Regions from separate parts of the Homo sapiens genome. Here region 1 is linked to region 2. The links are contacts of gene promoters, found by promoter capture Hi-C in human tissues and cell types (Jung and others, 2019). All regions are on one chromosome and are shown on one strand. The core of a region is centred on a gene start or on the middle of the fragment in contact, and the rest is flanking DNA. Distances in the headings are between cores, read along the strand shown.

Region 1 (4,803 bases), core at 629-3,128, 160 kb after region 2:
TCTTCATACCTGTATCCTCTGGGCAATGGTCTTGAGATCTATAGGCTCCTTAATTATTGCATAATAATCTGGATATTGCTGGAAGACAAAAAACCAGGCATGCTCAATAAGTTAAACTATTCAGCTAATGAAAAGAGAAGGAAGTACATTGACAATCTGTTGTTCAAACAACCAGTGAAGCAGCTTTGTGAGATTCAAGACTAAAGACATGGCTGTACAGCACATTTATTATATCAGAACCATAAAGAATTTAATCTTAAGAAGCTTCATGATCTATCCAACAGCATGACTTAGGAGTTAAAACTTGGTATTTTGAGTGTTATTATGCAACTAGCATAAAATTTAATGTTTTAAAAAATTCTAGGCTGGGGCCGGGTGCGGTAGCTCACGCCTGCAATCCCAGCACTTTGGGAGGCCGAGGCAGGTGGATCACCTGAGGTCAGGAGTTCAAGACCAGCCTGGCCAACATGGTGAAACCCCATCTCTACTAAAAATACAAAAATTAGCCGGGCGTGGTGGCAGGCACCTGTAATCCCAGCTACTCAGGAGGCTGAGGCAAGAGGATCGCTTGAACCTGGGAGGCAGAGATTGCAGTGAGCTGAGATCGTGCCATTATACTCCAGCCTGGGGGACAAGAAAGAGACTTCGTCTCAAAAAAAAAAAAAAAAATTCTAGGCAGGGCACGGTGGCTCACACCTGTAATCCCAGAACTTTGGGAGGCCGAGGCGGGTGGTTCACGAGGTCAGGAGATTGAGACCATCCTGGCTAACGTGGTGAAACCCTGTCTCTACTAAAAATAGAAAAAAAATTGGCTGGGCATGGTGGCATACAACTATAGTCCCAGCTACTCTGGAGGCTGAGGGAGGAGAATCGCTTGAACCCAAGAGGCAGAGGTTGCAGCGAGCCGAGATCATGCCACTGCACTCCAGCCTGGGCGGCACAGCAAGACTCCATCTCAAAAAAAAAATAAATAATCTAAATTCGGCAAGGCGCGGTGGCTCACACCTGTAATCCCAGCACTTCGGGATGCTGAGGCAGCTGGATCACTTGAGGTCAGAAGTTCAAGACCAACCTGGCCAACATAGCGAAACCCTGTCTCCATTAAAAATACAAAAATTAGCCAGGCATGGTGGTGTGCGCCTGTAATCCCAGCTACTCAGGAGGCTAAGGCAGGGCAATCACTTGAGCGCAGGAGATGGAGGTTGCAGTGAGCCGAGATCACGCCATTGTACTCCAGCCTGTGCAACAGAGCAAGATTCCGTCTCAAAAAACAAACAAAAATTCTAAATTCACAGAATTATACAATTTTTCATTTAAGGTCCCAAGATATCTATGCCTAGAAATAAAGTAGAAGAAATGCTCTTTAGGAGTTTGTTACAAGCTCTTTTAATTTTGCAATCTAAATAACGTTATTATATAATATTCACATAAACTTTCATAAGGATCTGTAAGAAGTCAGGTTGCAAAATTTGTTAGCTTCATGTTTAACTTGATGCTTCTGCTTATTTCAGTCAAAGTAAGTTTTTTCAAAACAAAATACCTTTTGAATGAAACTTTGTTAAAGAAATGAAGCACGGCTGGGCATGGTGGCTCGCGCCTGTAATCCCAGCACTTTGGGAGGCTGAGGTGGGTGGATCACCTGAAGTCAGGAGTTCGAGACTAGCCTGGCCAACATGGTGAAACCCCATCTCTACTAAAAATTCAAAATTAGCCTGGTATGTTGGTGCATGCATGTAATCCCAGCTACTTGGGAGGCTGAGGCAGGAGAATCGCTTGAACCTGGGAGGTGGAGGTTGCAGTGAGCTGAGATTGCTCCATTGCACTCCAGCCTGGGCAAGAAGAGCAGAATTCTGTCTCAAAAAAAAAAAAAAGAAAGAAAGAAATGAAGCAAAATTCTGGTCAGGCATGGTGGCTCATGCCTGTAATCCCTGCACTTCGGGAGGCCGAGACGGGCAGATCACGAGGTCAGGAGTTCAAGACCAGCCTGGCCAATATGGTGAAACCCCGTCTCTACTAAAAATACAAAAATTAGCTGGGTGTGGTGGCGGGTGCCTGTAATTCCAGCTACTCAGGAGGCTGAGGCAGGAGAATCGCTTGAACCTGGGAGGCAGAGGTTGCAGTGGGCTGAGATCACGCCACTGCACTCCAGCCTGGGTGACAGAGCAAGACTGTCTTGAAAAAAGAAAAGAAATGAAGCAAAATTATTAGCAACTTCTGATTTATCAAATACTAGGTCATCCCAAGAAATTGAACATGTTGAGGAATGTCCTTGAAGCTTTCACAACAACCTAGAATCACTCACTGCACTCAGGCTTTCCTACAGATTTTCTTCCTTGGAGGAAATAACTGAAGTTGCCCAAATATCAAAAGTTGGTCTTATCAGATGGGAGAGGTTCAGGGGAAGTCAGATTGTGCTCTCCCAACTCTTCCCACCTGTTCAAACCCTACTGAAGCCCACGCAGCAACAACAAAAGCAGAAAGCCACAGCCTTCACTCAGTTACTGGGCTGAACAGATTATCTCAGTGTTGTTTTATCTCATCTGTCCCCTAAGCTTACCACTACTTTCTTAACCCTACTCCTTCCTTTACTTGGATGAATCTCCATTGCTGCCCCTTCTCTTCACCAGTTCTACTTCTGAGAGAAAGTTCAGAGGACAAATTATGGCAAGGCCACCCAGCATGGAGTACAAAGTAATTCAAAGTCATCCAATCCCACAAATTCCCAATCTATCTCTCCCATGCAGCCAGCTTGCTTGGGACGGACTTACTAAGGAAAGGTGAAAACTGTCCTGCCCCTTCAGCTGTCAATCCTTGTTGTCTTTCAAACTGTCACACCCTGAGAGACCAATAGAAACCTGCTTTTCCCAACCAGCTCCTTCAAGGTGACCTTGAAGGGGGAATGGGGGGAACTAATTATTGATGTTTCATTGCCCCATATCACTGTTGTTGATTTGACCATCACTGATTATCTCCTGCAGGGTAAGAATAAATCTTGAGCGAAGACAGTACTTCTATTTTGTGTGTATGTGTGCATGTGTGAATGAGAGTTGACAGAGAGCGAGAGAGAGAAAAAGAGACGGGGTCTCTTTCTGTTGCCTAGGTTGGAGTGAAGTGGCATGATCACAGCTCACTGCGGCCTTGAACTCCTAGGCTCAAGTGATCCTCCAAACTCAGCCCCACCAAACAGCTGTGACTACAGGTGCACACCACCATGACTAGCTAATTAAAAAAATTTTTTTTGTAGAGACAGAGTCTCAGCTATGTTGGCCTCTCAAAGCTCTGGGATTACAGGTGTGGGTCACTACACCTATCCTGTACTTCTTTTATAATTTTTTTTACTGTAATAAAATAAATTTCATGTAGTAACATGAAATTTGCCATTTTTAAGTGTACAGTTCTGTGGCATGAGGTACACTCACACTGCTGTGCAACTATCACTGACATCCACCTCCAGAACTTTTTAATCTTGCAAAATGGAAACTCTGTACATATTAAACAACTCCCCATTCCCTCCAGCCCCTGGCAACCACCATTCTAACTTTATGTCTCTAAGATTTTGAGTATTCTAGGTACCTCATATAAGAAATCATACAGTATTTGTCCTTTTGTGACTGGCTCATTTTGCTTAAAATAATGTCTTTAGAGTTCATCCATGTAGGATGTTTCAGAATTTCCTTCCTTTTTAACGCCAAATAATATGCCACTGTATGTATATGTCACATATACATTCATTCACTGATGGACACCTGAGTTGCTTCCATTTTTAGCTATTGTGAATAATGCTGCTATGAATATGGGTATACAAATATCTCTTCAATACCCTGCTTTCACTTTCTTTGGAGTATATATCTAAAGTGGAACTGCTGGATCATATGGTAATTCCATGTTTAATTCTCTAGAGAATCATCATACTGTTTTCTCCTTTTCTTAAAGTTTTAAGTCATATGACCAATATTAATAATTACATCTTTCTAGTAAGATTCACACATAGGACAGCAGTGGTCAGTTGCTTTATTTCTAATGTTGTAACTATCCTATAGCTAGTCAAGACACACCTTTAAATAACTATAGTCTTGCCAATGACTGATGAGGAAAGCTGCATGCTACTCATCAGTCAACAAGCATCTTGCATATCTATGACCACCCAGCATGGGGTACAAAGTAATCCAAAGTCATCCAATCCTTCGGATCGGGTTCCAGTTATAGACAGTAATACAAAGGTAAATTACAGCACAGTCACTGTCCTCAAGAAATTCAGGGAGTAGAAAAGAAGGCAGACAGAAAAGTAAATGATCACAATAGGGCTAAGTGCTACCATGGAGTACTTCTGAAAGTATATCCTTACCTAGAAATATGAGAATGCTGAGGCCATGAAAATGTTTGCAGTTTCATAGGCTAATGTGAGTCAAATCTATATGTTAATTATCTTTTGGGTGTAAAGGCATAAAGAATTCTGATACTTTTTAAAGGTCTTGCTTGTCTAGAAAACCTCTTCTTTTTTCAGGCAGAAGAGTACCTAATTCGTTTTTCTTTTTTCAGCATCACCAGGAGATCAAAGAGAATTAAAAGGAGGAAGAACTCATTTATCTTCCTCTTACCCTGTCCCCTACACAAAGAGAAAGTTTCCACTCTTAAAAATGCAAGGTTTAGGCCGGGTGTAGTAGCTCATGTCTGTAATCCCAGCACTCTGGGAGGCTGAGGCAGGTGCATCACTTGAGGTCAGGAGTTTAAGATCAGCCTGGCCAACATGGTGAAAGCTTGTCTCTACTAAAAAATACAAAAATTAGCCAGGTGTGGTGGTGC
Region 2 (4,894 bases), core at 1,556-4,055:
GGCAGCAGGCTTTTGTGTTCTCTAAAAATGTTTTATCCTCCCTTTGGTACCTTAATTTGACTGTCCTCGCAGAGAATGTGAACATGTGTGTGTGTTGTGTTAATTCTTTCTCATGTTGGGAGTGAGAATGCCGGGCCCCTCAGGGCTGTCGGTGTGCTGTCAGCCTCCCACAGGTGGTACAGCCGTGCACACCAGTGTCGTGTCTGCTGTTGTGGGACCGTTGTTAACACGTGACACTGTGGGTCTGACTTTCTCTTCTACACGTCCTTTCCTGAAGTGTCGAGTCCAGTCCTTTGTTGCTGTTGCTGTTGCTGTTGCTGTTGCTGTTGCTGTTGGCATCTTGCTGCTAATCCTGAGGCTGGTAGCAGAATGCACATTGGAAGCTCCCACCCCATATTGTTCTTCAAAGTGGAGGTCTCCCCTGATCCAGACAAGTGGGAGAGCCCGTGGGGGCAGGGGACCTGGAGCTGCCAGCACCAAGCGTGATTCCTGCTGCCTGTATTCTCTATTCCAATAAAGCAGAGTTTGACACCGTCTGCATCTTCTAAACCAAGGGTCACTGGGATCCCAGCAGGGCTTCCGTCCAGGGCGTGGTCACATGGGGGAGGGAGGGTGCCCTGGAGACAGGAGGGTGAGGGGTTGGGGGAAAGGAAGGAGCAGCCCTCCAGGAGCCAGATGCTTCTTGGAACATGGGAGGCATGACAGGGCCATGGCCTCTCTGGACAGTGCCATGCTGGGCTGTGGCTAAACCATGAGCGCAGGGCAAACAAGAAACTCCTCAGGGCACCCCTGACACACCAGCCGCTGCCCCTCTGCCTGGGTGCGGGGCATGCCACCCTCTTCAGGCTGTCCTGCAGGTCTTATGTGTCAGTCACCCCTGGGCCCAACCCCACCTGTTTCACAACCCCTGTTGAGAGTGGGGGAGGGGCGAGGAGGACAGAGAGATCCCAGAGTCTGAGGTGGCTGGTGGGGGCCGGGGCATCTCACCAAGGTGGCCCTTGAATGGCAGCAGGGGAGGTCTGTGGGGAGGTGGACCCAGGTGGTGGACAGTGGAGGGAGGGGCACATACCCATCTGTGTCTGTCTTCATGTCCCTGAAACATGAGGCTCATGGGCCCCTCCCTGAGGGTTGCTTCAGGGAGCCTGCTGAGGTAGGACCTGGGATTTTGGTAGCCAACCCCATGCCACACTCTTCCCCAACCCCATTCCTGCTGCCAGAGCAGGGCCTATGAGCCCCACATAACTCATCCTGGCCCAGCCAGGAGCCTCAGTCCCCAGGACCTTGGGGCAGCCAGGCCAGGCAGGGCTGTGGAGAGGTGGGTGGCGTGGCCAGCCTGGGTCCCAGGCCTGCTTCTGTTCCCCCGTTTCCCTTGGTGCCAGCAGAGTGGGGGTCCTGCCTGGAGGACCCTTCACCCCCAGGAAGACTGTGGGTGTGGGGAATGTGGGGAGGGTTTCCCCTTGCAACCCCCATCCCAGCCAGATCTCAGGCCTGCCTGAAGGCCCCTCCAAACTGATGGGAGTGGAGGTGTGCTGGGGAGGAGAAACTTTCCCCAACCTGGCCTTTACCAAAGCATTTACAGATGGCCACCGGGCTCTGGCCCACTCCTGTCTCCCCAACTGTTACGCCGTCTGCAGTTGGGGGTAGTGACAACTGGAGGCAAGGCCCACCACGTGCAGCCCTGGCACGCAGAGGCCCTCAGCCTGGGCCCACTGCACCTCTTGGGGGTGCTGGCTGTGCAGGCAGTGGTGGCTTCAGACAGTAGCCCTGGGATTGGATATGAAAACTGATTACCTCAGACAAGCTACCCAGCCCCTCTGAGCCTCAGTTTCCCCACCAGTAACAGAGGGATCATAAAAGTAGCCACCTCCATTCATTTATTCCTTCTGCACACGTGTATTGAGCATCCACTGTGCGAATCAGCCAGACAGCGCCCCTACTCTTCCACAGCCAATGTTCCAGGGGAGACAAATGAAACAAGCCAATGTCAGCTGGTGGCTGGTGCTGCCAGGTGAACCAGGTGCAGGGCCACCTGCAGGCTGAGACCAGGGAGGCGCTCTGAAGTGGTGGCCCTTGACCTGAGACCACCTGTGAGAAGGAGCCAGAGTGTGACAATCTAGGGTAGCAGCACATGCCGGGAGAGCTCACTGAAGGAGCAGAGAGGCCTGCGCGGCTGGAGCAGACCTGTCTGGGGAGAGTTCAGAGAGACCAGCCAGCTGGAGAGGGGTTTGGAGGTGCTGCAGCAAGCTGGCTGAGCATGGGCTGCTGAGTGGAGGGCAGATAGGGAGGCAGGGAGGGTGGATGGGGGTTGGCGGGCAGGACCAGCGGCTCAGGAGTGGCTGGGGCTAGTGAGGGGATGTGGGTCTGGTGGGCTAGCAGGGTGCCTGTAGCGAGTCAGAGCCCCATGAGCGCCCTGGAGTTGGAAAGGTGGAGGCAGGAACAGACAGACCCATTCAGGGGCTGCCCTGCCTTCCGCCGACCAGCACCCCAGGAGCCTCTGAATGAAACACACTGGGCTCGCAGGCGGGGGACTCGTTCACGTGTGCCTTTGGATTTGCTTCAGAACCTCTGATAGAGCCCAGGTCCCGGGGCTCATGGTGGCCTGGACTTCCAGGTTGTGATGCCAGGAGGGTCCCAGCCGGGAAGCCCCGAGCAGGGCTCAGGCCGCCCATGGGGGGTCAGTGGCCAGCACCTTCCCTTCCGCCTGCAGGCTGCTGATATGCAGGAGGAAATCCTGGCGGGTTCCTGTGGGGGTGAGCTGGCGGGGCCTCCGGGCTGCTTTTAAGGCCACTGCCCGCCCCGTCCCGCCTGCCTGTGCTGTGCCTGCCTCCTAGAGCTCATTCCCTACGCCCCGACTCTGTCCTGGACAGCGTGCCCACCAGCCATGGCGGGGCCCCGGGGCCTCCTCCCACTCTGCCTCCTGGCCTTCTGCCTGGCAGGCTTCAGCTTCGTCAGGGGGCAGGTAAGTGTGAGCCAGTCGCAGGGGCACACGGCGTCTGGGCCCTGCCGGCCAGCGGTGGGAACAGGGAGGGACTGACATGGAGGGGCAGGGGCCTGGGGAGAAACCGCAGCTGGCGCCTGTCTGGCCTCTTAGCAGGCCTGGGGGCTGGCTATTGTGCCCACCTCCCCAGTCTGAGGTCTGCGTCCAGCCACCCAGGGTTCAGGGGTGTGTCAGCCCACCCTCCTCTGACTATGCGGGGCCGGGGCTCCCCAGCGTGCAGCTGAAGTGTACAGAGGCAGGCCTGTCCTGCCCTTCTGGCCCAGACGGAGGCCCAGGTCTTATGTGGCCCTCACCTGGGGGTTGAAGATGTGATCACCTCCAACCCCCGAGGACTACAGATTCACGTGGGGCAAGTGTGTGCACATGTGTGTGCCTGTGTCCAGCCCCAAGAGTACCGGGAAGCAGAATGAGTCACTCACCCTTAGTGTCCGGGGTTATGAGCAGCTGGCAAGGACACACTTCAGCCTCAGAGCTGCCACAGAGCAGCCACAGCCCCGGGCAGGTCCCCTTGAATCCTCACAGCCTCGGGGCAACTCCTCCTGTCCTCCTCGTGAGGAACCCGAAGCCCTAGGATGATGGGGACAGGCCATTCCCACTCTAAAGCCATGCTCCAAACCCCTGCCTGTGATGGCCATCCGTGTGTGCTGGCGAGCAGACAGGGTCCTGGTATGCAGCCACAGCCAGCCCCTCGGTCAGGTCCCTGTGACAGGCTCCTGGCTGCAGGTCTGCTCAGGCCCCATGGTAGGGGCCTCTGGGAGCTTCTGGAAGAGCCTCCCACCCTGGTGATGGGGGTAGTCTCTCTCCTGTGAGGCTGAGCGTGTCTGCCTCCTGGAGCAGCAACCACTATCCCCATGGCACAGATGGCCAGACTAAAGTCCAGAGCGGGGAGGACTTGCCCAGGATCCCACAGGCAGTCCAGCCAGGGGCCTAGGCCCCCTGCCACCATCAGGCGCTTTCTCTTGGATGCCTGTGGTCCCTCAGAGAGGCAGCAGGGAGAAGGGCCTCACCAGCTTCAGGACCAGGCCAGGGCTGGGGACAGGAAGATATGAGGCTGAGAAGGCGACAGTGATGGGGGAAGAGCCAAGGGTTCCAGGGCTGTGCTGAGAGCCCTGCAGGTAAGCTCCTGCCCTCCCCTTAACTCAGTTTCCCCCTGTGTACCATGCAAGGGAATTTCAAAGGCCTCCGCCACCTCCTCATGCTCTGGGCAGTGAGGACAGAGGTCAGTGAGGGGCCTCAGATTCGAGTTTTTTCCTTGTCAGAGACCTATGGCTCTGACCACTCCTTGTGGATGGGGCTGCAGCAGTGCTGGCCACTCTAACACAGCTACGTGGCCTCTATCCCAGCACCCTGCATAGCCGAGAGCCACTGTAAGTGCAGTTGGCCCTCTGTATCTGTGCACCCTGTACTTGGGTTCAACCAACCCTGGATTGAAAATATTCAGGAAATAAAATGGCATCTCTACTGAACATGTTCAGACTTTTTTTCTTTTGAGGTGGAGTCTCGCTCTGTAGCCCAGGCTGGAGGGCAGTGGCGTGATCTCGGCTCAGTGAAATCTCCACCTCCCAGGTTCAAGCGATTCTCCTGCCTCAGCCTCCCGAGAACTGGGATTACAGGCGCCCGCCACCACACCCAGCTAATTTTTGAATTTTTAGTTTCACCATGTTGACCAGGCTGGTCTGTAACTCCTGACCTCAGGTAATCCACCTGCCTCAGCCTCCCAAAGTGCTGGGATTACAGGTGTGAGCCACCGTGCCCAACCCCATGTTCAGACTTTTCTATGTACATAGCATTTACATTGTATTCGGTATTATAAGTCGTCTAAGGATGACTTAAGGTATACGGGAGGATGTGCATAGATTATATGTGAATTCGATGCCTTTTTTTTTTTTTTTTTTT

Evidence for each region. Contacts are between HindIII fragments. The study calls those that stand out against the background at their distance.
Region 1: a fragment that was not itself captured here is called in contact with the fragment with the promoter of STAB1 in region 2 in 2 of the 25 tissues and cell types used here (aorta and liver).

What each region holds. Positions count from the first base shown.
Region 1 is chr3:52,651,733-52,656,535 of GRCh38, forward strand. PBRM1 (polybromo 1) reads right to left here. Exons shown (of 32, transcript NM_001405607.1): 7 at 10-78. Among named protein-coding and RNA genes, the nearest start is that of PBRM1, 32 kb to the right of the region's middle. The HindIII fragment of the contact is 3,551 bases long and covers 104-3,654 here.
Region 2 is chr3:52,492,533-52,497,426 of GRCh38, forward strand. STAB1 (stabilin 1) reads left to right here and starts at 2,806. Exons shown (of 69, transcript NM_015136.3): 1 at 2,806-2,959. The coding sequence starts at 2,882. It overlaps NISCH (nischarin), which reads left to right. Exons shown (of 21, transcript NM_007184.4): 21 at 1-536. The HindIII fragment of the contact is 11,021 bases long and covers 1-4,894 here.